2 separate regions of the Homo sapiens genome follow, and region 1 is linked to region 2. Evidence: promoter capture Hi-C in human tissues and cell types (Jung and others, 2019). All regions are on one chromosome and are shown on one strand. The core of a region is centred on a gene start or on the middle of the fragment in contact, and the rest is flanking DNA. Distances in the headings are between cores, read along the strand shown. Region 1 holds the start of COL5A3 (collagen type V alpha 3 chain). Region 2 holds the start of S1PR2 (sphingosine-1-phosphate receptor 2).

What was found. The method cuts DNA at HindIII sites, captures the fragments that hold promoters and counts their contacts. A contact is called where the count stands out against the background at its distance.
Region 1: the fragment with the promoter of COL5A3 here is called in contact with the fragment with the promoter of S1PR2 in region 2 in 1 of the 25 tissues and cell types used here (dorsolateral prefrontal cortex).

Annotation. Positions count from the first base shown.
Region 1 is chr19:10,009,049-10,012,067 of GRCh38, forward strand. It overlaps COL5A3 (collagen type V alpha 3 chain), which reads right to left and starts at 1,456. Exons shown (of 67, transcript NM_015719.4): 1 at 1,250-1,456. The coding sequence starts at 1,337. The HindIII fragment of the contact is 11,359 bases long and covers 1-3,019 here.
Region 2 is chr19:10,229,984-10,232,683 of GRCh38, forward strand. It overlaps S1PR2 (sphingosine-1-phosphate receptor 2), which reads right to left and starts at 1,348. Exons shown (of 2, transcript NM_004230.4): 1 at 1,221-1,348. MIR4322 (microRNA 4322) reads left to right here and starts at 430; the gene lies at 430-502. RefSeq lists enhancers at 1-52, 1-706, 1,853-1,902 and silencers at 233-282, 993-1,652. The HindIII fragment of the contact is 35,191 bases long and covers 1-2,700 here.

The sequences.
Region 1 (3,019 bases), core at 206-2,705, 220 kb before region 2:
TAAGATTCCATGACCATGTGGATGTGTGAGCGTGGGAATGCGGCATAGTCCAATCAGGGATTAACCATATGGACAGGCACCTTCCTGGACTCCAAAGTAAGAAGTGTGCTGTGGTGTGTGTGTGTGTGTGTGTGTGTGTGTGTGTGTGTGTGTGTGTTGGGAGACTGAGCTCACCTTAGAAAGGGATTTCCAGGAGGACCTAGTCTAGGGTCTCTCAGATCAGGGAAGCCCCATCTCCAACACTTGAGAAGCTACGCCATCCCCTGACTCCCGAAGCGCCCCCCACTCTGAACCCTGAGGGGCGGGACAGGGCGCCCAGCCAGATGCGCGCAGCTGGGCGTGCGTCAGCGCTGACTCACCCATCCGGCGGCCCCCGGGACCCCTTGGGGGCTCCTGAGAAATTCCTCGGGAAAAACACCCAAGGCTCCAGCAGCTGGGGTGGGGAGGGGGGGAGCAACTTCCACTCCTGCCCCGCCCTGCGCCCCGCCCCGTCTCGCCCCTCACCGCGGCCCTCCCCGAAGCCCTGTCCATGGTGCTGATCGCGGCTCTGGGGACCGCGGGGTGGGGGAGGGGGCAACAGGGAGGGAGGGGAGGAGATGGGCGCTCGCCAATTTGGGGCAGAGGAGGAAAAGGGAGAATGAGGTGAAGCCATTTAAAGAGACGCAAAGGAAACTGTGGGTTCCCGAAGAGCACCCCCCAATACTTGTCCCCACCCACCTTCATCCTCATGGGCAATTATTTGCACCCAAAAATCATAACTACACCCCTCATAGCGGCACTCAGAGACACACAATCACACGCATAACCACTCACACGGTTACCCTCGAAAATCAGCACATAGACAAGAGCACAAGTGCATACTCACCTGTCGCAATACACACCGTCCCAGCACTGCCCTGTCACTCACAGTCACACTATCACCATCAACCTCCACACGCAAGCACATACGCAACTTCACTCCAAATGCACACACATGCTACACACACATACACACATGCACACACCTGCACATTGCATGCATTCCCACGCGCTCGCCAGAAAACGCACTCACACATCCCCACCCCCACCCCGAGCTGTCACACCCACAAATCACCCAGAGTCAGATACTCATGCGCCCACATCACACCGGGGCCGCACGCGGCGCCCACGCCCTTCCCCTCCACGCCCCTCCACCCCCCTCCACCCCTCGCTCTTTTAGAGCCTCTCTGAGTCGTGGACCCTGGGTCCCATCTCTTCCCTCCCGGCTCACCGGCCTGCGTCCCCGGCAGAAGCTGCAGCGCGGCCAGGAGCAGGCAGAGACCGGCCCGCGGCTGGCCCAGGTCCCGGCGGTTCCCCATCCCGGCGGGGCCCACGGGCAAGGCGGGGAACCAGTCGGGGCGGCTGCGGGGCGCGGCGACTTCTCGGGCTCGGTGCAGTCACTCGCGGCGGCCGCTCCTCTCAGGGTCCGCGGGAAACTGCCCGAGACCCCGCCCTGGCCTCGCCCTGCGCTCCAGCGCCTGGCCAGGCGGGGCTTTTTGGAGGGGGAGCGCTGACAGCTGGACTGGGAAGTTGGGAAACTTTGTGCTGAGGGCTGATTGGCTGGCTGGGGTGGAGCCCAGCGCCAGGAGCTGGGTTGTTCCTGCCCCACCCCACTGTGGAGGAGAAGGGTCACTCCCACCCAGCCCTAGAGTTCGAGGGTTCCAGTCTTACCCCAAACCTTTTCCGCCTAGCAGATCCCCTCAAAGGAGACCTTAACCTCATTCAAGACTTCAGCCTCCATCCAGGCCCTAGAATTAGGAGGAGGTGCAGCTTTATACCAAATCTTTTTTATTTTCTATTATTTTTACATTTTATTTTGGAGACAGGGTCTTGATCTGTCACCCAAGCTGGAGTGCAGTGGTGCAATCATAGCTCACTGCAGCCTCCAACTCCTGCGTTCAAGCCATCCACCTGCCTCAGCCTCCTGAGAAGCAGGTACCACAGGCACACACTGCCACACCCAGCTAATTTTAAAATATGTATATTTTGTAGAGACCGGGATCTTGCTATGCTGCCCAGGCCGGTCTTGAACTTCTGGTCTCAAGCGATCCTCCGGCCTTGCCCTCCCAAAGCGCTGGAGTTACAGGCATGAGCCACCGCCCCTGGCACCAAGTCCTTTCTGCCTCACTCAGGCCCCCAACTGGGGTCCCAACCTCACCCCGAACTCTCACTCACCTACCTGCTTTATCCTCAGTCCCTCAGCTGCACAATAGGAGGTACCAGCCTCAGCCCCAAAGCCTTTCCTTCAAGTCCCTAACGGGTCCTCATCCCACCTCAAATCTCACCCCAGATCCCAAAATGGGGTCCCCAGCCTTACTCCAAACCTTCATCTGTCCACTCAAATCCCTAAGTCACGTGTCCTGGTCCCAAATTCTCACCACAGATCCCAAAACACAGTTTTCACTTTCCCCAAATTCTTGATTCCTCAAATAAAGGGTCTCATCTCCATCCCTAACCCTCATCTCCCCCCGCCCCAACTCAGGTCTCCAGTGGATGCCCCGGCCTCAATCCCAAATCCCCACCAAATGAGGGAGTCTGAGCTGGGTGCGGTGGCTCATGCCTGTAATCCCAGCATTTTGAGAGGCTGGGGCGGGCAGATCGCTTGAGTCCAGGAGTTAGAGATCAGCTGGCCAACATGGCGAAACCCCATCTCTACTAAAAATACAAAAATTAGCCAGGCATTGTGACTGGCGCCTGTAGTCCCAGCTACTTGGGAGGCTGAGGTGGGAGGATCACTTGAACACGGGAGGTGGAGGTTGCAGTGAGCTGAGGTTGTGCCACTGCGATCCAGCCTGGACAACAGAGCAAGACTCTGTCTGTCTCAAAAAAAAAGGCCGGCGCGTTGGTGGGAGGTGGTGGGAATCTGTCCCTGTCGCAAAGCAACGCACAGCCACTGGGGAGGAAGGGGTGGATTCTTGCCATTCTTGGGATGAGGCAGAGGCCCCCCTCACCGTGCTGGGACCCCCACCTCCAGCATGAAGAGGCCCCCATGAGGTCAAAT
Region 2 (2,700 bases), core at 98-2,597:
TGAATGAATGAATGAACCAATGAACAAAGGAGACCCTAGTGGGTTCCCAAGGGTGGAAACTCCTAAGCTCAGCCCAGACCCAAACAGCAACAAAGGAGCCTGGAGACACCTCTGGTCCGCGGGCAGCGCCCCCATCGCCCACCATCAACCAGGCAAAGCCCAGCGTGTCTCCATGGAGATGGCAGCAGGACCCGACCCCGTGCTGGCCCGCACTCTCGGCCTCCTTATCTGGTTTAGGAATGCGCGGTATCCACGCTCGCTCGCGCGGGAGCCACGCCTCCTCTCCCCCCCGCCCCCGAGACCGCCACACGCGCGGGGCCCCCACGTCTCCAAGCGGCACTGGAAGGATTCCTCTCCGTCCCGCCAGGGGTCCCGCCTCGAGATTCTGGGAAGACTGGGGGTGGGGGACCAGATCGCAGCAGCAGCTGCACCGCGAGTTCCGCGCCTGGCCGTGTCGCCCCACGAGGGGGACTGTGGGCTCAGCGCGTGGGGCCCGGAGCATCTGACAAGGACAGAGACAGAGGAGGGGGTGGAAATCCCCGGGTGAGTCAACCCGTGCCTGAGAAGGGGGCGAGTTCCGACGCTCCGCCCGGCTCGGGGCCACGCGAGGTCCGCGCCACGCGCGCCTTCACCCACGACCCATCCCTGAGCCGGAGTTGAAAGAGGAGGCGTCTGAGCCACGCAGTCACTTTCTCTTTCCTTACAAAACAAAGCCACGCCCCCCGCCGGGGGACCGGAGGAGGCAAACAACTTGGGGAAACCGAGGCAGAAAGCCCGACGTCCGACCGCCCTCCCCGTGGGTGCCGCCCCTTGGCTTGGAGGCTCCACGGCGCGCACATCCTTTTGCCCTCGCTCAGCCGGAGTCAGCCAGGAGGGGTGTTGCCCCCCCCCAAACACACTCCCCAAGACCCCGGTCCCCGAGCACGGCGTCCTGCCTCCCAAAGACTCCAGTCGAAAGCGCTCGGATTCAGCCTTCTCCCCGGCGCCAACTTCCTGCCGCTGAGAAAGGCGGGGAGCACAGTCTGCGGGTTCGCGGCCGAGGCAGTGGGGGCCGCCCGGATTCTTGGAGAGGGCGCACTGTGACCACCCGCTCCGTGCAGCAGGAACCCAGGCGGCGCGTGCGCGCCCCAGCCCCCCGATTGGGGCCCCTCAGCTCGGATCCCGAGACCTCAGGGGACCAGGCCCGCCTTTTCTGCCTCCTTGTCGCCACGCGCGCTCACCTGGCTAGGCCGGCCCGGCTCCCGGCCCTGGCCGGAGGGGCCTTGGCGTCTGCGTCCCCAGGGCGGCCGCGGCTGGGGCTGGGGTTGCCAGCCGGGCTCGGCTAAGTCCCGGGGCTGGGACGAGGGACAGAGGGGGGGGCGGAGAGCCGCCGCCTCTGCCCCCCGCTCGCCCCGCCCTCCTCTCCTCCCCTTTCCGGCGGCGGCTGCAATGAATTCCAGATGTGACCGGCCGGCTGGCCGGGGCGCACGCGGGGGCCGACAGGAGCTGCACGGAGGGCCCTTTGTCCGCCCCCCCCACCCGATCTCTCACTCTGCCCCTCCCAGCCCCCACCCGTGAGAACCGGCCGGCGCGAAACGTCACGCAGCCTGGTGACGTCACAGTACTCCTGGCCAGGTGGCCTCAACCTGAAACAACTGTCTTCAACCCCAGGTTACCTCTGGGCTTACCCCTGGGACCCTGGACTTGGAAGAAAACACGAGGTCACATTTATTGACTCAACAAAGAGCCTTGGAAGTACCTACTAGGTGTCAACGCAGCAAATAGGCATTAAGTGCCTACTGTGTGTCCACCCAACAAATAAATTCCTACTAAGTGCGATGTCCTGTCCCAAAGACAAAATTGATCTCTTTTTTTTTTTCTTTTTTTGAGACATGGTCTTGCTCTGTCATCCAGGCCAGAGTGTGGTGGCTCAATCATAGCTCACGGGAGCCTCAGCCTCCTGCCTCAGCCTCCAGAGTAGCTGGGACTACAGGTGCGCCATCATGCCTGGCTAATTTTTTGCAGTTTTTTGTAGAGATGGGGTCTCGCTGTGTTGCCCAGGCTGGTCTTGAACTGCTGCATTCAAGCAATCCTACTGCCTCAGCCTCCCAAAGTGCTGGAATGACAGGCGTGAGCCACTGTGCCTGACCAGTCTCTCCCTTGATAGGACCTCCAGAATTCAGGTGCTGCCCTGTTTCCCTTGGGGGACTGGGGACACTCCACACTCTTTCCTGCCTCTGTAGATCACTGTCCCCTCTGGCGGGGCCCAGTTTGTGCCTGCCTTCCAGCGTCGGGCCCAGTCTTCTATCCAGATTTCCAATTTTCACTAATTCCTGGGCATTTCTGTGTGCCTGCCTGCGGAAATGATGGACACTACACCTTCATCGAATGATGTGTGTGTGTGTGTGTGTGTGTGTGTGTGTGTGTGTGTGTGTAACCAGCAGTTCGACAACAGGATAGGAAAGCCCCTCATTCCAGCAACAAAATTTTTTTGTTTGAGACAGAGTCTTCCTTTATCTCCCAGGCTGGGGTGCAGTGGTGCCATCTCAGCTCACTGCAACCTCTGCCTCCCAGGTTCAAGCTATTCCTGTGCCTCAGCTTCACAAGTAGCTGGAAATACAGGCGCGTGCCACCACGCCTGGCTGATTTTTTTGTATTTTTAGTAAAGACAGGGTTTCACCATGTTGGCCAGGCTGGTCTCGAACTCGTGACCTCAAGTGA